Linked DNA regions of Homo sapiens: regions 1 and 2 are each linked to region 3. Evidence: promoter capture Hi-C in human tissues and cell types (Jung and others, 2019). All regions are on one chromosome and are shown on one strand. The core of a region is centred on a gene start or on the middle of the fragment in contact, and the rest is flanking DNA. Distances in the headings are between cores, read along the strand shown.

Region 1 (4,287 bases), core at 1,216-3,715, 61 kb before region 3:
GCAAGTTAGAAGAACACCAGCCACCTCCATTATGCACACCCATGGCTTCTCCGTTTAGTGCCTATTTATTTGTCCTTGACTTCCTTCTTTGCAGAATATGGTAGTAGAGATGGCAGAAAATAATGATAGCCAGAAAAATCACTGGAATATAGTCAAGACCTGACTAAACGACTGGCAAGAAGGACTAACCTAGAGGGGAAAAGTAAGAGAAAAGTGGCTTCTGTCCTTCAGAAGCGAATCGAGAGAAGCGACTTGGATTACTCACATCCGAATTGTCCTTTTGAGATTGTCCCTAGTCAGCGTTTCACTGGAAGGTGATCTTACCTGCCTCTCACTACCTGCTACTCTGTTTATCAGCCTTTCCATTTCTAGCACCATATTTCTACTTATTGGACACTTTCTTTGTATATTAAGCTATCATTTTTAGCTCAACATGTGTGACCCCACTTTTACCCTACATCTTCTTTACTTACTAAATAGCTGCCCATTCCAATTTCTTTTTCTGTTAATGGTATTACCCAAGATCAAAACCTCAGCTTTTATGTGTCTGTACAGATGCCAGTGTATGTGAAGACACATCCAAAAAACCCGTCCTCTCAGTACCCTGTTACAGCGTGTGTGCACTGGTATGGCTGTGACCTGGTGTTCAGAGTGGGTTAGGGAGTCAGGACAGAGAGGGAGAGGCATGGGGTGAGCGTGGAGGGGCCAGACACTAACTAACTGTGTACCCCACATGTGAATGAAACCGTAGATACTCCAGCCAGGAAGGTTTATATTCAGTGAGAAATGTGCGAGACTTCTAGATCCCATGGCTGGATTTTAAGTAAGGTCTTCACCAAAAGGATCTGAAAAAACCAAATTTTAGTGGGTAATGAAAGAATCCCTTTCAACTGCTGAGCAAGTAACCTGAGACCTAGAGAGGTTAATTTCCTTCCCCAAATCTCTAGACTTTTTGGCCAGTGCTCCTTTTATCATCACTTTATAGGCTGTATGTTTTTTCGTTTGTCACCTGTATTTATTGTATTATGGTTTATATTATTCTGTCATTAAAGTGTTTCTGGAAGAGGTATTTGCTATTGAAGCAAAAGAATAGCATAATGTAGCTAAGTTACAACAAATGGAAACCCCATAGCCATAAATAATTTCTAATTATGTGCCTTGACCTCCCACTGTATGGGCATTAAGCATTTCAAATAAGAGTTGCTTTGTGTGTGTGACCAAGTTTTTAACTGATGAGAATGGAAACCAAGCATCCTGCATACTCTGTTGGAGTCAGTGTGAATGGCATTGGCTTTTAATTTCTATTGGAAATGTCTGTATCCTAAATTTCAAACGTGGATGTGAGTACTGGATGAAGATTTTAAGTGGTTATTAAAATATTAATTTTCAGTGAGTTATCTCAAAGCCTTGGATATTTATTCTCAAGAAAGCCTATAGAAAATAAACGTTTTAATGTTGGAAAAACATAAGTATAGTTTTCATGTAATATTTTTATATTGATTTGACTCAGGTGAGAGGAGATGTGGTTAAGTGGTTGTGTAGTTTCTCACTGGTGTAACCCTAAAAGAGTAAATTAAAAAATTAGGGTTATTTTGGGCTATCACTTTGAACTAATTTAAAAGAATTATTTGTATTTTATTTAGATATCAAAACTGTATGGTATTTTTAAAATTTATAAATGCATAATTTAACAAAAATAATTATAGTAAAGTTATTTGGAATTGTTTTTGCTAATCAGGGGATACTTTCTATAGTTTTTAATAAAACTTAGTTGAAAATACCCTCATTAAGTGAAGCTTTTGATCAGACTGTATCGGCAGGCTTTCCCGTATTGTGGACATGTAACTGAAATGCATTCACTCACCACAGTTTTCTTTTTACTGGAAGGTTTTTTTTTTTTTTTAATCTCAACTTGAGTATTCCTACCCATCTCCCCAAAAGACAGTAGGAAGTACTGTTCCCGGTTTTCTTCTGTAATTCTCAGATGGCAAAAAAGGAAATATGCATGTTGGAGAACCAGCATAAGCGTGTCCACAGCTGTGAAGAGCAGTCAGCAATTCATCCAGTCAGTCATTTAAGTTCCTCAGAAGCGTGACTCATTTATTCCCTGAACCACAGTTGAGGATTTAGGTTGAACCAGGCACTCTGCGGCAAGCTGGGACTGTGGTCCCAGTTCTTAGTTCTCATACAGCTGCATGGAAAGGGAAAAGATGTATTATTCAAATGATGACGGAAATGTATGGACAACTGGGACCTGTGGCAAGAGCTATGGAAGACAGGCACACAGTGCTCGGAAGGCCTTTCGCAGGGTGGAGATGGGGTCAGCGAATGCCTTTCTGAAGTTGGGGGTTACCTGGAGAGGAGCCAGTGCACGTGGCTCCTCTGAGCCCAGGCACGTGAGGTTGGGGGAATCAGATGAGGGGCCAGGGTCTGCGGTGGTGGGGGGAGTCGTGCAAGACAAAGCTGGAGAGAGACATGAAGGCCAGGCCAGACCGTGAAGGGCATCGCCGGCCGATCTTGAGGAGCCTAAATGATCTGACTGCAGTTAGAAACCAAGTGTTTTAACTAGAGAGAGACCATAATCAGCCTTGCAGTTCACAAAGATTGCTCCGGCTGCAGTGTGGAGGATTTTCTTCAACAACGACTTCATGGTCCTGTTTTATCACAGTTTTTTTATGGCGAGTTCCTGCAAAATGTAAGCTATTTTGTTGACTTTTAGTAGGAAATCAAAGTAGACAGTTCCTTGCTCAAGAGTTTTACTTAATGGTCTACTTCTAAAAATCCACTTTTATTCTGACTTGTAATCAAGGCAGGCCGTCTTATCCATAATTATCCTTGGAACTGTATCCCACCCTTCATTAAATTGCCACTTATTTTTTCATATTGGTCAGTATTCGGTTGTGTCCTGGACTCCACATGAAACCCATTATAGTGTCTGTTCAGCACCCCGAGAGGTGAGGGTTGCAGTAACTGATTTCTGTAGAGATAACCACATCTGATTCCTTCACCTGCGTGTTTATTTTACATCGAGTCAAAGATAAATATAGTTGGACTTTAGTTAAAGCATTTATTTGGTAATTAAAACAGCATTTATTTGGTAATGACTAGACAGTAAGAGAAATAATGGAGCTCCATTCTGACTTGTGCAGAGGTGACCGGATGTTTTAAAGGGACAGTGGCCTGTGGAGTGCAATGCGGGCTGGAGCAGAGTCAAGGAAGTGAAGAATTTTACAATGCAGGAAGGGGCATGGTCCATATGGGACCCATCTGGGTTTGCTAACTGGGACTTATCCAAGTTAGACTCCTACCCTCCCATGGAGGCTCGGAGATAGGGGCTCTATCTTTGAGTGTTTGCTGGAACAAATAAAAATTCTTTGGGAAGCCTTGATTTCTCTGAGGCAGTCATTTTAAGGGGGGCTGAGCCTCCTAGGGATGTGGTCTTGAGCTGTTAGCTTTAACAATGCAAATTCTGTTTACAGATTATGTTGAAATTTGAACATTTTCTTTGGAATTTAATAATTTTTTGTGTTCGTTAAGAAACAAGATATAGACAATCTAGGCCATTTTAAAAACTGAATCAGTTTAGTGACAAGTATACACTTTATGTAAAGAATCTAAGTGGATTTCATAGATAAAATAGATCTAAATAGAGCTAATAGATCTAGCATAGCACTGATGAATTTTCATAAGGGAATACACGCATCTCCGGCACCCAGATCAAGAGACGGAAAGTTACCAGTATTCTAGAAATCTCTTTGTGCCTCTCCCAGTCACTAACCCTGCACCCAACTTAACTACTACCCAGATTTCTAACAGCATATTTTAGCTTTGCAAATTGTGTTTGAACTTTATAAATGTGCCCTTCTGTGTTTGGCTTCTCTCACTCCATGTTGCTTACAAGATTCATCTGTGGTGTTGCCCACGGCTGTAACTCCCTCCTGTAGCTGTGCAGCAGAGGTCAGAAAGCCAGGTGTGGCTCAGGCCAAGTCTAGCTTGTTGGCCTTATTTTATAGAGCCCATTACCTAAGAATGGTTTTTACATTTTTAAAGGATTGTAAAGAAAATAAGCAAAGAATAATAGATGACAGAGATTATATGCGGCCTGCAAGGCCTAAAATATTTACTTTTTAGCCCTTTGCAGAAAACATTTGCTGATCCATGATCTATATGGCATTCTAGTGTATAAATATACCATACTATCCATTCTACTGTTGGTAGACATTGGGGTTATTTCCTGGCTTGTGCTATTTTGAATGATGCTGTTTTGAATATTCTTGTCCAGGTATC
Region 2 (4,934 bases), core at 2,311-4,810, 44 kb before region 3:
CACGAATCCAGTGGCTGCTGTATGTGGCCCCATGACGTTTGTGCAGTGCTCACAGCAACCCTGAGAGGTAGAGATGTCATCTGATTACCCATTTTACTGATGAAGAAAATTAATCGTGGATGAAAAGGTTGTAGGGCATACAACCTTTTGCCAGAGCCCTGTCAGGCTGCATCTTGGAAAGTTCCCCACCGGCTGCCTCGCATGCTTCCTGCTGCAGCCGGGCAAGCTCAGCCCTTCAAGGAGGGGTGGAGAGTGCTAGAGTGGGAAGGGCTTTCGAATTGCAGATGGTGCAGATTATATATAAAATGGTTGTCCTCCTAAGTGATTTTTCTCAACTTCCTGAAAATCATCTTCACATTTGCTTAGTGCTGAGTCCTTTTGACCTTCTGCAGCTTTTGAAACCTGACACGTGATTTCTCCATCTTATGTACAACTGGGCTCATGTTCCTCCTTCTTTCCCATCCCCCTGGGGTCTGTTGGTGACCATGACCAAGCCGATGCCCCTGTGAGCTCAGGTCCTCAGCACAATTGGTGGCACCACACAGGGGTGGACGTCTCCATGCCTTCAAGGTCCACAGCGCCGCAGCGTGGTCGCCTGTTCATCATCCGTTCACTCCTCCCTTTCCCTGCCTCCCCTGACCCCATGCACCTCCACATGAGAGCTCCTGAAACGGCAGGAGAACCTTTGCTCTTCATAGCTGGAGTAGAGAAGGACTAATGAGATCCCGAACTTGCATTTTACATATTTATTTCATACGCTTATTTATGTTAATTCATACATGAGTGAAGGCAGAAAAGATCGTTTTCCCATTGGATGTTCAGTGCATCACGTTTGCGGTGAAGCACAACTGTCCCCTCTCCTTTGTTTACAGTCGCTGCCATCTAATGAAGGACACCCGGACCTTGGGGCGCTGTTAGTGTTTTCTAAAGTGGGCATGCTCTGATAACTGTGTATACTTTCTTCTCCCTAGTGGCACCCATGGGTACATGGCTCCCGAGGTGCTGCAGAAGGGGACGGCCTATGACAGCAGTGCCGACTGGTTCTCCCTGGGCTGCATGCTTTTCAAACTTCTGAGAGGGTGAGTTGAAATGCATCCTTCTAGTGCTGTCCTCATGGCAGCAGGAGCTTGGATGAAAACTGAGAATATGTAGAAATGACTAGACGCTAATGTTATTTTAAATCACACAGTGATCTTTAAGCCATGTGCTAATCTGGAAGACTCTGTCTTAGAAGAGTGAAAGCTGCTTCCCAATAAGCTGCTAGATAAAAGCTTATGGCTTCGTATTTTTATTCTGTACCATGTAGGAATCAGAATTCTTTTAAACCTAAAATTAGACTGCTTCGAATTTTTTTCTTTGATAAGCCACATTGTAGGAATAAGTATTGTTTTGAAATGTAGGTAATTTAAAAAGGTAGAATGATTTTTTCCCTAGAAATTAATTATTCATCATCTTGAGGGTTTACAGATTTTGAGAGTTACAAAAAAAGGATGAAAACCCAAAGTAAACCTATTTTATTTTATTTTGTTTTGTTTTTAGACAAGTTCTCTCTCTGTTGCCTGGCTGCAGTGTAGTCACACAGACATCACACACACAGGCTCACTGTAGCCTCGACCTCCTGGGCTCAAGCAATCCTTCCACCTCAACCTCAGTCTCCTGAGTAGCTGGGACTACAGGCACACACCATCACACCCGGCTAATTTTTTTTTTTTTTTTTTTTGAGACGTCTCGCTCTGTCTCCCAGGCTGGAGTGCAGTGGCACATCTCTGCTCACTGCAAGCTCCGCCTCCCGGGTTCACGCCATTCTCCTGCCTCAGCCTCCTGCGTAGCTGGGACTACAGGCGCCTGCCACCACGCCAGGCTAATTTTTTGTATTTTTTCAGTAGAGACGGGGTTTCATGATGTTAGCCAGGATGGTCTCGATCTCCTGACTGGGTGATCCGCCTGCCTTGGCCTCCCAAAGTGCTGGGATTACAGGTATGAGCCACCGCGTCCGGCCTACACCCAGCTAATTTTTTAATGTTTTTAGAGGTGAGGTCTTGCCATGTTGCCCAGGCTGGTCTCGAACTCCTGGCCTCAAGCCATCCTCCCACCTCAGCCTCCCAAAGTGCTGGGATTAAACGCCTAAGCCACCACACCTAGCCGGTAAACCCATTTTAAAAAGCTTGCGTTTGTTGGGGAAAATGCTGAAATTAATTTGTCTTTTAAAGCTAGTAGTATACTTGGCCCTTGTTCTGAACTACCAAAGATGATGAAATAGAGTAGAAAAGATTATGAGAGGAAAGTACTCTCAAAATATGTTCTCATATTAAACACTTAACAATTATGTTAATGTTGCCATTAATTCTAAGACTTTTAGCCAATTTTAATGGAAAACTTCAGTTAAATTTTTTTATTATTCAGACTCATAAATCATTTTACATTAAAATTTCCTAGTTAAGATTTTCCTTTTAATATTTTCATATGAACACAGTCCCGATAGTTTGCTAAATGTTGCACCTTTCCATCGGAGAGCCTAACTGAGCACCACTGCATCTTACTACATTTAGCACATTCTGGAGAGAGGCTGAATTCTACATTCCCCCAAAACTAGGTTCTGAGCACCCTCTGTTTCGTCAGGACTCTGATAATCCAGTTGCTCTCTACTTTGCATTCACTTGTGATCTAAAATTGTATTATTGCTTAGAAAGTCGGGTTCTGTTATTCCTTAATTGAATTATTGTATTTGTGGAGCCTGGATGGCTTTAATTCATGTCATCAGACTAGCTGACCTAATTAGAGAGTTTATCTAAGCAAACCAGAGAAAGCCATTTCCCCTATGAGATGCTGTTCTCCCCAGTGGAGTCGCTTCTATGCATATGGAGTGCATGAAGACACCCAGGAGATCTTTATTTTGGATCTCTGCTGGAGATGTGGTTGGAGACAGACAGTCCCTACCTACAGAATTTGGAGATGATAAAAAGAAAACTGTGCAACAGCTGAACTGTTGAATGTAAAAATCAGCAGTAAAATCTGACAATCCCAGAAGCCTTGTATTTAGGGCTTTGTGTACTTCTTTGTTTTGTTACTCTAGCTGTTAAAATGGCCATGCATATAGGCTGGGGAGGATTTGCTGTAACACTGCTTCATTTTTTAAAAGACTAGAGGGTTTTGTTCAATAACTCTGTCTGCTCCAACAGTGTGGTTTGTGGCTAATAAAATGAATTCAGTCTTATTTGGCTGTAATTCAGCTTTGGCATACTGAACTGGAAGATATTAATTCCTTTGTGAAGTCCTTGATTGGCCTTGATGGAAGCATTATGTTCAGTGGGGCTCCTGCCGAAAAGAGTCTTGACAGACAGGAAGACATCCTGAGGATGGCCGTGAGGCTGGGAGGGATGGATGAGATAAGTGGAGAGTGGTGAAATAGCTAGAAATGATGGCCTCCGTGGGAAGACTGAAAGAGCTGAGTGCAGAACTTAGGGGAGCGCATGGTTGGCTCCAGCTGCTGGAAGGCCGTCTTGTTGAAGGGATCATATGCATGCTGTGTAACTCCAGAGGGATGCATTTTGAGGAGAAAAAAGATTTCAGTTTAATACAAGAATGTCCAGTCATTTGAGCTACCCAGTGAAGGAGGGTTCTGCCTCATGGATAGCAGGCTCCTTGTCACTGTCTGGTGACCATCGATTGAGCCTGAAATGGAAGGAATCTTTCCAGTGCTTGATAGATAGGATTAGATGAATCTCCCCCACTAGGATTTATTATCTCATGCCATTCCTTCTATTGTTTGTTCAGAAGTCACTCACAGATAGGATATAGCACTGGAGCCAAAGAGCAGGAAACATTTTTGACTTAAGTGATTTAAATTAAATGTGATAAGCATTTACTGCGTACCTGCAATGTACAAGAGACTGCTTGATGCTGTGGGGGAAGGAAAGGAGTAAGGAAGGAAAAAAGGAGAGGGAGGGAGGAAGGGAGGAAGGAGAGGGAGGGAGGAGGGAAGGAAGAAAGGAGGAAGGAGAGGGAGGAAGGAAGGAAGGAAGAAGGGAGAGAGGAAGAGAGGGAGGGAGAAAGAAAGGGAAGGAGGAAGGGAGGGAAGGAAGGAGGAAGGAAGAAGAGGGAAGAAAGGGAGAAAAGGGAAGGAAGGAAGGGAGAGAAAGAAGGAAGGAAGGAAGGAAGCCAACCAGCCAGCCAGGAAGGGAGCCACACAAAATCTTTGAGGGATAGGCAGTCTAGGAGAGTAGCTATTGATATACACACCGGATCAGGAGCTGGCTGAGCTGTGCTAACTTTGACAGTAGCGATGTGCTGCGAGCACAGACATGGCAGAACCAATTCTAACCTGGAAGTGTAGGGTTGACATCATGTGGGAGATGGTCTGTCGGGTAGGCTTTGAAGATAGGTAGGATGACAATACAAAGCCTGGGAGCAGGGGAAATACCAGCTTTCTATGTTTCTTAAGAGGGAAGGAGTGCTGAGGGAGAAGTCTCAGATGGTTGGGTCAGCACTGGGAGGACCTCGGATGCAGTGCTGGGAAGTTTGACCTTTATCCTCCAGGCCCCGAGGCTGAAAGCTTTTCAGCGGAGCAGTGGCAGGGTTGGGTGGCTTTTCAGTAAGATGATTCTGGAAGCAGCCTGGAGCAATGGAGGAACCGAGACAGGAGGCAGGCAGAAGAATGTGAGCAAAAGGCAGTGAGTTTGCGCAGCAGCCCTGGAACCTGACAGGAGCAAATGACATGGCGGCATTGCAGAGTTAGCTTCTGTAACGCTTCAGTGTTTTCGTGGAGTGTGTTTTGTTTTTGTTTTTTTATAGATGGTTGGATATGGAAGGATAGAAGTTAAACATGCTGCAATTTAGATTCAAGATGATTGGGAGAATAACGATGTCATTACTAAAATCAGCGTCTGTAAAATTTCAGTGGTTCACATGAAACTGAAGTGTACGGAGGGCCTTTC
Region 3 (4,757 bases), core at 926-3,425:
CACAGGTACCAACAAGGTGAATGGAGCAAACACATGCCATGTTGACTCCTTGGGGAACGGAGGTCCCTTCAAGTCAACGGAACCATCACTGCAGGTCATGGCCTATAGAGAGTCCCAGCCCTGGGCCCAGAGAATCATTTCTGCATGTCAACTCTACCACTTCAGACCAACAGCGTCGGAAAGACAGCAAGGACAGAAAAGCCCAGGAGCCAATGGTTCAGGACTTGTGATGCAAGGGGCGGGAGAAGGGAGGTTCTTGTTTCAATGTCAAATGATCTAGCACAACCTGGAGAAAACAGCTCACCGGGACCTGTCTCCAAACTCTTCCCCTGGTGTGGCCTAAATGTCCCATGCCACTCTCCACTGGGGGCCGCAGGGACCCCTCCTCAACCTCATGTATATTATGTATATTGTATTTTCTTTTTCTTTCTTTTCTTTTCTTTTTTTTTTCAAAATGTAGTTTTGCTCTTGTCGCCCAGGCTGGAGTGCAATGGCGCCATCTCTGCTCACTGCAACCTCTGACTCCTGGGTTCCAGCTATTCTCCTGCCTCAGCCTCCCGAGTTGCTGGGATTACAGGTGCCCGCCACCACGCCCAGCTAATTTTCGTATTTTTAGTAGAGGTGGGGTTTCACCATGTTGGCTAGGCTGGTCTCAAACTCCTGACCTCAAATGATCCACCCGCCTTAGCCTCCCAAAGTGCTGGGATTACAGGTGTGAGCCACCATACCCGGCCTAGACTGCCATTTTCTAAGCAGCCTTCCCTTAGTGTTTCAATGAACTTCTGATTGAATGCTAATTTTCAAGACCTCGGCAGAAGTGAGTACTTTGGGAAAATATTGCTCGATGAGCTCTGGGGAAAGAGGAGCAGCACCACATAGCAATTATTGAAACAATTCTCACAGGAGCAGTATCATGCTGGGCTGATTGCGGTCTTTGGAACCAGAAAGACTTGGATTTGAGTCATGACTCTACCCTTTGCTAGCTGCATGGACCTGCATGGTTTATCCAATTTATTGAAGTCTGTACTTTGCTCCTTTTAGGCAGTGGACAAAGCACTTTTTTTGTTGTTGTTTTTTTGAGATAGAGTCTCTTATCGCCTAGGCTAGAGTGCAGTGGCGTGACCTTAGCTCATTGCAACCTCCGCCTCCTGGGTTCAAGCAATTCTCCTGCCTCAGCCTCCCAAGTAGCTGGGATCACAGACAACCACTACCCCACCCAGCTGATTTTTTTTTTTTTTTTTGAGATGGAGTCTCTCTCTGTCACCCAGGCTGGAGTGCAGTGGCGCGATCTCGGCTTACTGCAAGCTCCGCCTGTAGCTGGGACTACAGGCGCCCACCACCACGCCCGGCTAATTTTGTTTTTGTATTTTTAGTAGAGACGGGGTTTCACTGTGTTAGCCAGGATGGTCTCAATCTCCTGACCTCGTGATATGCCCACCTCGGCTTCCCAAAGTGCCGGGATTACAGACGTGAGCCACCGTGCCAGGCCCAAAGCACTTTTTTATAGCCCCTAGTTTGCTGTTGTGTCTGTTTCCTCTACGGCCCGCACAGCCTGGGTTTGAATTCTGGCTCTCCATGGCCTTGGGCAAGTTGGTTAACTTTTTGTGTCTCAATTTCCCCACTTGTAAAGTGGGGCTGGGGAAAAACCCTACCTCATAGGGAACATTAAGTGAGTTCATGAAAGCCCTCGGTGTGTGGCATGCGATAACCACTACCTAAGCATAAGGTATGTTTACATGCACTGGTTGTTTACCACGACGCACCAGCATTCATTCAAGTTATTTTCTTCCAGAGTCTGCCTGGAATGTAGAACCGGCCAGCTCTCCTCCTCAAACAGTTCCTGCAACCTCTGGTTATCTGTGTGGGCAGAGGCGGGAGTGTGGGTGTGTGGCCCTGCCCTGGGACAGGGATGACGAGAGAGCATGTGCTTGTGTCCAGAGCTGTCCCCTTCCCTGCTCAGGGGCCACCAAATATGTCCATGGTCTCTGCTGCCTGGTCAACGGCCACCCCGGGCTGCCGTCTCCTGGCCAGACCTGGAGCTCACAAGCTAATTTTAGAAATGACTGGTCGACTCAGCTGCTGCTATCACATTGGCCCAGAAGGAGGGTGGGGGGAGGACGGGTCGGGGAGGGGCAGTAAGGGGAAGGGATGTGTGTCGGTGTGTGTGGAGAGGGTGCTCCTTCGCTCCTGCTTTCCCGGCTCGGTGGGGTCCCTTCGCGGCCACCCGGGGAGACGTCTTAGACAGTCGTGGTTCCTGTGATCTGTGTCCTCTTTGCAGAAGGTACTATTGGGCTGGGTTTTAGACGGGCACCTTGCGAGCGGATCGGCGAGTTTTAATTTTCCGGAATGCGCTGCTGGGGGCTGCGGTGGCAGGCCTCCGGTCTTTTGGTCTATTTTAGGCCTTTCTGGTGTTGAGAGCTTCCGAGGCCTGATTCCTTTGCCTGTTGCCCGTGCTGCTCACTTTGAAAACAAGAGTGTTTCGGTGGAAGGATTTGAGAACAAAATGCTGGGGCAAATGGACATTCGTAAGAATCACTCTCCTCAGGCCCCAGCTGTTCGCTAATAATTTTTAAAAATGTGTTTAGAATCATGAGTTAATCTCCACTGTGAATCTTTGCCCGCAGACGTCAGGGTTTATATTTTTCCTCAACTACCAGTAATTTCTGCTTCACTGGTGTTCAGTTATGGTCGGGGAAGAGCCAGGCTTCCCCTTTCGTGTTAACAACGCTGTTGAGTCGAAATGTTAATTTTAATGTTCTTTTTTAAACTGCAAATTAAGCATGTATGAGTGTTGGGGGAAGGGCAATGGAAGTTCATGGCTGAAGGTTTCAATTTCATGCCACCTTCCTTGAGCTCTGTCTGAGGGAAGGTGTCTTATCTGGCACCCCGGATAGCAGGCATTTCTCTGAATGAAGAAGATTCACAGGTCCCAGTGGCCCCATAGTGGGGCAGAAGGGGGCTATGCTTTGACATGGAGCTCTCTCCCAGGAGAGGAGAAGACCTCACCAGCTACAGGCCTCTGGGCTGCTGCCTTCCTGCAGCTTTTCCATGGAGGAGGCCAGGAGTGGGGAGGCCCGGAATGGGGAGCCCAGTCGGCTCCCAGTCGGCTCCAAGCTGTCCAGTCTGGCCTCAACCCGCAAGTGTGGGGATCTGGGCTTCTATCCTGTAGGGCCTGGAATACGACGAGGCTGTTACTTTCACTTTGTGGCTGTCCAAAAAGATGCTGCCTCATTCAGTGCACCAGCTCATGGAGGCTGAGTGTCCCACTAGGGCTTCTAGACTCCAACAAGGATAATGGTGGCCTTGGGTGCTGTATCCATTGCTGACCTAAGTTGTATTCTCCTATGCCTGGGTACCATGTCCAGTGTGTACCTTGGGAGCAGAAAAGAGAGGGGTCTATATACTCTTAGGCTATGGATGAGTTCTAGAAAATAATAGTGGAGAGGAGAGAGAGAAAAGAAGGAAGAGGAGGAGGAGAAGGAGAAGAAGAGAAGGAGGAGGAGGAAAAAAGCAGGAGGAGAAAGAGAAGAAGGAGGAGAAGAATAATAGCAAAGGAAAAGGCCAAAAGAAAAGGCCAAGTGGGTGGAGGAGGGAGGAGAAGGAGGAAGAGGAGGAGGAGAGGGAGTCTCCTGGTCTCCTGGCTTTTGAAGGGCTGCATGTTACCAATCAACAAATATTTGATGTCACCTGCCTCCAGGCCTGGTCACCTTGAATATCCTGGTGTGGGCTCTGTAACCTTGGATGAGTACTCTCCCCAGTCGGAACTTAGTTTCTCCTTCTAAAACCTGAGGGGGTTGGGCTAGACCACCTCTGGGATCTTTCCTAGGATTCAGCATCCAGGAAGGTTTTTCTTGAAGTGACGGTCGTTGACGACCTACCCATCAGACTCATGTGGGGCAGGAGGCGGGGGGCTGTTTTAAAATGCAGATTCCTGGGTTCATCCTAGACCTTTTGAACAGTCTTGGGGGAAGGGGCCCAGAAATCCACAGATTTTAAACCTCACAGGTGGTTCTGGTGCCCACCCAAATTGGAGAAGAGCTTTTCCTTTCACTTGAGCTAACAAAACCACAGAAGGCTGTTGCTCAGCACCTGCCCTGTCAAAACTCATGGAATTTCCATGTTTCACAAACATGGAAAACGTGCACAGCACTTTATTAGGGTCTAACTATCGCAAAGATTTTATTGGGCAGGTGTTCCTCCAGGGGTAAGATCAAGACTTTCTATGGCATTTTGAGGTGGGAATGGAGGGCCCCCAAACTGAGCAGAACCACTTCCAGCTGCCAAAAGATAGGGACCTGGGGCTGTGAGCCTACAAGGCTATGGGGAGATGGCCCTTCACTGGGTCCTGCTAGATACAAACAACTGTCTGAATGGCCCATTTGAAGCACATGGTCAGCTGCTGTGGTGTGTGGCATATCTTTAATATTTAAACAAAGTGGCCGGGCGCGGGGGCTCACGCCTTTAATCCCAGCACTTTGGGAGGCCGAGGTGGGCAGATCACGAGGTCAGGAGATCGAGACCATCCTGGCTAACACGGTGAAACCCCGTCTCTACTAAAAACACAAAAAAAAATTAGCCGGGCGTGGTGGTGGGTGCCTGTAGTCCCAGCTACTTGGGAGGCTGAGGCAGGAGAATGGCATGAACCTGGGAGGTGGAGCTTGCAGTGAGCCGAGATCACGCCATTGCACTCCAGCCTGGGGACAGAGAGAGACTCCGTCTCAAAAATAAAAATAAAAATAAAAATAAACAAAATGAAA

Evidence for each region. Contacts are between HindIII fragments. The study calls those that stand out against the background at their distance.
Region 1: a contact is called between a fragment that was not itself captured here and the fragment with the promoter of MYO18B in region 3, in 1 of the 25 tissues and cell types used here (dorsolateral prefrontal cortex).
Region 2: a fragment that was not itself captured here is called in contact with the fragment with the promoter of MYO18B in region 3 in 1 of the 25 tissues and cell types used here (spleen).

The regions. Positions count from the first base shown.
Region 1 is chr22:25,679,062-25,683,348 of GRCh38, forward strand. All of the region lies in intron 9 of GRK3 (G protein-coupled receptor kinase 3), which reads left to right. Among named protein-coding and RNA genes, the nearest start is that of MYO18B, 61 kb to the right of the region's middle. The HindIII fragment of the contact is 4,338 bases long and covers 297-4,287 here.
Region 2 is chr22:25,694,136-25,699,069 of GRCh38, forward strand. GRK3 (G protein-coupled receptor kinase 3) reads left to right here. Exons shown (of 21, transcript NM_005160.4): 13 at 972-1,079. Among named protein-coding and RNA genes, the nearest start is that of MYO18B, 46 kb to the right of the region's middle. The HindIII fragment of the contact is 3,686 bases long and covers 1,718-4,934 here.
Region 3 is chr22:25,740,013-25,744,769 of GRCh38, forward strand. MYO18B (myosin XVIIIB) reads left to right here and starts at 2,176. Exons shown (of 44, transcript NM_032608.7): 1 at 2,176-2,281. The HindIII fragment of the contact is 19,978 bases long and covers 1-4,757 here.